2 separate regions of the Homo sapiens genome follow, and region 1 is linked to region 2. The links are contacts of gene promoters, found by promoter capture Hi-C in blood cells and fetal thymus (Javierre and others, 2016). All regions are on one chromosome and are shown on one strand. The core of a region is centred on a gene start or on the middle of the fragment in contact, and the rest is flanking DNA. Distances in the headings are between cores, read along the strand shown. Region 1 holds the start of ELAC2 (elaC ribonuclease Z 2). Region 2 holds the start of ZNF18 (zinc finger protein 18).

Region 1 (3,557 bases), core at 546-3,045, 1.0 Mb after region 2:
CGGTTGATAGACATAAATGACAGGGTAATCTGGACAGTGGGTATGTGTGTGGCTGCCAATGTGCCAATGGCGTCTGCGGTAAACATATTAACTGTAATCACCACTGCTAGACTCTCCAGTTTACTGCCACAAATCTCTGTCCCCGCAACGCAAGAAACTAAGTGGATGGTAACACTTAAGAGGTGGTATCCATATTAAAATCTGTTCTCCTGAGTCACAGCTTTTAATGCTCTGTGCTGCTGCTGACTGGGCTGGTATAAAAAGAATTCCAGGCCAGGTGCGGTGGCTCATGCCTGTAATCCCAGCACTCTGGGAGGCCGAGACAGGAGGATCGCAGAAGTTTGAGACCAGCCTGGGCAACATAGCAAAACCCCGTCGCTACAAAACATACAAAAAAAATTAGCCAGGTGTGATGGGGCACACGTGTGGTCCCAGCTATTTGGGAGGCTGAGGTGAGGGGATCACCTGAGCCCAGAAGGCAAAGGTTGCAGTGAGCCAAGATCACGCCACTGACAAAAAAAAAAAAAAAAAAAAAAGTAGCTGCCCACCCCAGACTTGGAAAAATGGTAAAGCCGGTTAAAATCCCAGAGACTTCCCACCAGCCTCTGACACTGCAAAGAATATACTCACCACTTAAGCCCCCAACATTAGACCAGTGCATTCGTGTCAGGAATATGTTGTCCAGGCGAGCAACCTTTAACCTAAGAATGAAAAAACATTTAAACAGGATAACATGAACAGAACAAGGACCACTTTTGCTATAAAAAACAACTGGCCTCTCATTTCGGCTTTCAAGCCCCGTAATCAACTCCCCCTCCGAAAGCAAGAGACTGACTCACTTGTGCTCCTGCATGAGTCTCTGAACGCCTTCTCCACAGTTGAAGAGATACCTACAAGACAAACATTACACAAGACATTCAGAAGGTTTTATTCTGTAAACTCTCTGACACCAATTAGATGTTTTATTGTAGACTCTGGAAAAAAAAAAAAGAAAAAAAAATTAAAAGTCCACGTTGGACTACCGAGCCACATTTATGCTGGTGGGTTTTGAGCCCTCCTTAGCAGAGGTGGAGAGGAGTGGGGGCCTGTGTGTGTGGGTGCTAGGACAAAATGAGTCCTTTCTCCACCACCGGCTACACACCAGATCTGTCCACCCCACACGCTAACAACGACACACTGGCCTTGGGGTGCACGGAAGAGGGTGGAGCTCCGAAAGTGCTGACAGCCAGGCCGGGGCCCAAGGGTTGGGAAAAGGACGCTCAGACCCAGGCCTGAAGTTCTTCACAGATCCGCAGAAATCACATGGATGCAAAGAATCTCGGATTTCCCACCCACCATAACTCCACGAACCCCCGCAACAGTGAACCACATGTGTGAAGCAGGGAAGCCGAAGCCCTGGGAGGTGCCCCGATGCTCAGAGGCTGCGCCGCACTGAGGGCCCAGCGGGACGGGGCGTGGCTCGTTGACTGACCGGTTGAACTCGGAGAAGACGTAGAGCGCGGCGCCCGAGTCCCGGCTACCCGCTGCCACCACCTGCAGGTACACGGTGTTTGGGCCGCCGGAGCACCCCGACGGTCCGCGCTTCTCTCGCGTGCGCAGGTGCCGCAGCGGGTCCTTGCGCGGCCGCTCGCGGCGGGCGGGTGCCTGCGATATGGTGCGTCCCTGCGACATGGTGCGTCCGGCCGCGGACCGCAGCAGCGAGCAAAGCGCCCACATGCGCCCGTCTCCACCAAAACTGAGAAAGCCGCCGGTCACCTACGCCCGCGTTTCCCGTGCACCACCTAGCCGCTCCGCATGGCGGATCCAGCCAATCAGCGCGCCGTGCACCGAGCTTCCCGCCTACGCGAGGCTGCTCATCCAATAGAAAGGAGCTTTACCGCTCGGGACTTGTCAATTGACAGTGGCCATAGAGTAGAGGAATACTAGAGCGTCTCAAGCGGCCCCGCCCCTAGTTCTGTTCCGGTTTGCCGGCCGCAATTTTTTCCGGAAGCTGTTTTTCTCCTGGGGCGGGACTTCCGGAAGCACAGTGCCAGGAAAAGCCTTCCTGGGGAAGGCGGGACCTAGGAGTTTGGAGTTTCGCTAAAACGCTCCTGTTCTCACCAGATAAGAGCTGTGTCCTCCGGGCACGTCAGTCCCTCAGAGCTTGAGTTAGAGGTGGTTGTAGTGGTTGTGAGGATTAAATGTGAGGAAATCAATTGTATTGAGCATTAGCATAAGCGCTTTGCTAATTTTATTTCCATTGTAATTCGTATGCATACATGTTAGAACTTGATCATTTTTACGTGGTGTCCCGAGCTTGTAGTCCCAGCTACTTGGGAGGCTGAGGCAGGAGAATCGCTTAAGCGCGGAGGCGGAGGTTGCGGTGAGTCGAAATCGCGCCACTGCACTCCAGCCTGGGTGACACCTCGAGACCCTGTCTCAAAACAAAACAAAACAAAACAAAAATTGTAGTGTTTTTTGGAAAGAAAAGCAAGAATAGAGGACAAGCTCTAAAGCAAGAGTCTTGGCTCATTTGTTAGCTGCGTGATCTTGACCTCTCAGAGCCTCAGCTTTCTTATGTGTAAAATGTAATAACAGCAATAACAGTATCTCCTACTTCAGAATATAGAATTCAGTCACCTGATAATATATCAATAGACCTTTGAGTGGCACTGTCACAGAAGAGGCACCCAGTAAATGATAGAAAATTAATACAAAATGTTTCAACTCCTAGACAATATAGCTGACCAGGGACATCACAGAGGTAGATGTCCCAATACCAGCTTTTTGAAAAAAACACCCAGTCCCCTCTTATGTAGCTAATGAGGATTTCTCACTGAAAGGGATATCAGTTAAAGCCGCTAGAAATACAGGGAGCTCCCTTAAAAGAGGAAGATAATTTACCTGGAAGCTCCACTCAAATATGATTTTTTAAAGATAATTTACCTGGAAGCTCCACTGACATATGATTTTTTTAAATAAATACTGAAAGATGTCACTTTTATTCAGGAAGTAAGGGAGATTCAAGTCATGTAGATTCCTACTCGAAAATCTTGACACCTGACTTTCCAGGATCACATTTTCATATGGAGACCAGTTTCCTCTTGGTTTCTTCAGTTAAGTCAAAACTACACGTTCCTCTTTCCCCATATATTTTTGCTCATTAGTGTATTTCTTGAGCTGTTTTCATTCAAATATGAAATTTTTTATGGAAGATTATCACCCACGGTGTGAAAACGTTTTGTACTTGAAATAACCATCCCAGTGAGGGTCAGGAAAACACTTCAGATCTACTTTACACAGTTAGAGGGCGTTACAAACTGAAAAGATTATCATACCACCATCTCCATAAGTATTTGAAATAAAAATGATAGTTTTTAAAAGTTGCTTAAAGCCTGGGCACCGTGGCACATATCTGTAATCCCAGCACTTTGGGAGGCCAAGGCGGGAGAATAGCTTCAGGCTAGTAGTTCAAAACCTGCTCTGTGGCCAGGCATGGTGGCTTATGCCTGTAATCCCAGCACTTTGGGAGGCCGAGGCAGGTGGATCACCTGAGGTCAGGAGTTCGAGACCAGCCT
Region 2 (3,362 bases), core at 352-2,851:
AAAAATATTACGCAAAGTGGTATTGCTAAAAAGCCATTAAAGCAATACCAAAAAACACTCAAAAACCCAATATCTGATAGAAAAGGAACACAAGAGAAACAAAACCAGAAAGGTCAAATGGAAAACTTTAGAGCTTCCTGGGTTCAAATATATTCTCTGATCATAGTGCAATTAAAGTAGAAATCAATAACAATAACTAGAAAATCCCAATTTATGGAAATTACTAAATAATGCTCTTAACCCATAGTCAAAGAAAAAAATCACAAAGGAAATTAAAATATGTTTTCATACTGAGTGACAATGACAGCATTATCAAACCACCTGAAAAGCAGCTTTAGCTCAGAGGTAAACCTACAGTTTCAAATAACATCTTAAAAAACGAATAAATATATTTTTAAAAATACCTTGCTTTGTAAATCCAACCTATTTGGCTCAAGAGTTTCAAATAACAAGCGGCAAGATTTTAGATAGCAAGATACCGACCTGTAAACTTACTGCAATTTATCTGTTTCCTAAATTAAGATAGCAGTTTAGATAATATTTAAGAGAAATGACATTTTGGAAAAACTACAGATTTTATAAAATACTTAAATCTTTTGTTAGTAATATTATACTCCCAGGTAGTGTGTAAGAAAAATGTCTCGATTATTCAAAATTAAATTACTTTATATAGTATTAAAAATTTAATAGAGTTTATATTCCGATAACCTCATGAGGAACTGCCCCCATTAGTTATGAAAAAAAAATAAGGTTGTCTGTTATACCTGTTATTAAACCTTTAACAAATAGAATGAATTTTTAAAAGTGCATTCTAGGTGTAATATACACAAGTGGTTACATACATGGTTACATATATAAGTAACCATTTGTTAAGCACCTACTACGTATCGGCTCATTATTAAGCTCGGTTCATGTATTTCCAATTCCCACAATTACCCTGGTGTACAGATCAGGAACCTCCGAGGCTCACAAGTGGCAGCCAGATTAACCCAGGAAGCTCTAAAGCCTTTGCTTTGGGGAGAACTGCCAACGTCTGGTGATTTGTTGGGGCGTTTTCTGGTTGTCACAAGCAGCTAGGGGAACTGGCATTTAGTGCTCGAGGCCAGGGCAGCGCTGCTCATTGGATATGTATTCTCCACCATGCGCCCCCCAAATGCCGACTGCACTCTGATGAGAGAGGGAGAGACTCCAGGCATCATCCCATCGGGTTTCCTCTTCCAGAGACTCATTTTCAGCCCTTAGGGGAAGACAGCGGGGAGGAGCCCGTTTTCGGTCCCAGTGCAGAGACCCGGCCGGTCCCGCGGGGCGCAGAGGCGCAGGAATGCAGAGCCGGGACGGGGTTCACACATCCCCCCGCACCCACGGTCCACTCCCAGCCATGGCTGCCCCGGCCCCGCACTCGCCACGTCCCCCGCGCGCTCCCAGACGCATGGGCAAGGGAGCCCGCTGGCCCCTCCGTAGCTCCGGGGTGCCCAGCTGAGTCAGGTGCGGACGCAGATAGCGCAAGGCCTGACCCCGAGCGGCCGGAGGCCGGGACCGCCCCGCAAGCGCGCTCACCTCGGCCCGCGGCGCCGGCTCCGGGCGCACTTCCGGGAGCTGGGTGGCTGCGCGCGCCTCAGGCGGCAGGCGAACGACGTGCGGCACCGGGCGGAGCTAGGGGGCGGGGGCGGAGCTGATACCGAAGCTCCTATTGGCCGTCGGGGACGCCCCGCCTCTCTCTGGCGTTGCAGCCCAGGAGCCTCCACCGACATGGCAGCGAGGTTCCCGAGCCAACGCCATCCTCCGTTCCTTCCGTCACTCACTCACTAATCACTGTTCCTGAGTTCCTTCACTTCTCACCCGTCATTTATTGCGCACCTATTCTGTGCCAGGCACTCGGCCAAGCACTGCGAGGCCTTCAAAGATCATTTCTTTGTCTCTCCCAAACCCTTCCGCCCAGTCCCACCCGCAGAGCTGCAACGCTCTGCCATTATCCCTGATTCTTAACCGCCGCCTTTCTCCTTTCCGTTCTTGCCTCACTGGGCCTCCCTGAGACACTTGATTTGCCCCAACCTTCTTCCTCTGTCTTGGTTCTCCCACTCTCATCAGCTCTGCATCCCCTGGGTCCTCTCCCACTTCTCCCCATTCCGTTGGGGCTAGTCCAATGTGGTGCCATCCTCTTTCCACCTGCGTCTCTCTCTCTTCTCTCTCTCTCTCTCAACAAATGTCATCCCTGACTCTTCCCTTCTCCTTCCCTTTCCCACACGCCAACAATGGCTGAATCCTCTGATTTGACCTCATTGTCTCTCAGACACCTCACCCTCTCTCCCTTCTCACTATCCCTCCCTCGGCTCAGTTCCACACCATTTGTAATGGTCAAGACCTTCTTACCCTTTCCCCAGCGTCCAGTGTTGCCGGTTTCCAGGCCATCCTGTGCTGGGCCACGACATCAACTTGTGATACTAAGTTGCATTAATGGAAGTATCATGTCAAAGTTTGGGTGTTCCACCTTGGGCAACTGGCAAAGAGGAGGGTATTCAAAAAAAGCTGCCATGTTCCCCAATAACCTATGGAAATAAAATAAATAAAAAATAAAAATTTAAAGAAGAGCTGTCATTATCATAACATGTCCTGTACCTGTCATTATCATAACATGTCCTGTACCTGTCATTATCATAACATGTCCTGTACCTGTCATTATCATAACATGTCCTGTACCTGTCATTATCATAACATGTCCTGTACCTGTCATTATCATAACATGTCCTGTACCTGTCCCATGTTTACAAGAATTAAAGATCCTCCTCTGGAGAAATAAAGCTTGATGCGGGGATGGGATTACATCTTCATGTACCTGAAAAGTGACCAGCGGAAAAGGGATTCGACATGTTCTCTTAAGTCCCAGGGTCTGAACAAGATCCTATGTGTGAAACTACTGTTTCAGCCTGACATAGGTGGAAGTTTCTAGTCTTTTTTTTTTTTTTTTTTTTTTTTTGTATTTTTGGTGGAGACGGGGTTTCACCATGTTGGCCAGGCTGGTCTCGAACTCGTGACCTCAAGTGATCCACCCACCTTGGCCTCCCAAAGTGCTGGGATTACAGGCATGAGCCATGGCACCTAGCTGGACGTTTCTAACATTCATGTGATTGATGGCGCTGCTTTGAGTTCCTGAGGACAGCATGGCTAACAATTTACCAGGCACATTTAGAGGGACACCTTCATTGGGTATTGCTTCCAACATCAATGTGCTCTGCTTCTAAGAAAGTCAAGAGATAAGGTGGTTTAGAGGGGAAGATTATAGGAGTTTTATCTTCAATGTGTTCGCTTTTAGCTGATCAACACCCAAGGAAGATAACAGTAATTCAAAACCATTAATTGGGTTC

The links. The method cuts DNA at HindIII sites, captures the fragments that hold promoters and counts their contacts. A CHiCAGO score of 5 or more calls a contact.
Region 1: the fragment with the promoter of ELAC2 here is called in contact with the fragment with the promoter of ZNF18 in region 2 in 7 of 17 cell types (naive B cells, fetal thymus, M2 macrophages and 4 more); the score reaches 10.0 in naive B cells.

Annotation. Positions count from the first base shown.
Region 1 is chr17:13,016,232-13,019,788 of GRCh38, forward strand. It overlaps ELAC2 (elaC ribonuclease Z 2), which reads right to left and starts at 1,796. Exons shown (of 24, transcript NM_018127.7): 1 at 1,472-1,796; 2 at 840-890; 3 at 631-701. The coding sequence starts at 1,716. RefSeq lists enhancers at 1,112-1,612, 1,124-1,233, 1,254-1,313 and a silencer at 1,834-1,913. The HindIII fragment of the contact is 8,738 bases long and covers 1-3,557 here.
Region 2 is chr17:11,995,874-11,999,235 of GRCh38, forward strand. It overlaps ZNF18 (zinc finger protein 18), which reads right to left and starts at 1,602. Exons shown (of 7, transcript NM_001303281.2): 1 at 1,558-1,602. RefSeq lists a silencer at 1,301-1,750 and enhancers at 1,683-2,666, 1,781-2,020, 2,091-2,170. The HindIII fragment of the contact is 4,230 bases long and covers 1-2,797 here.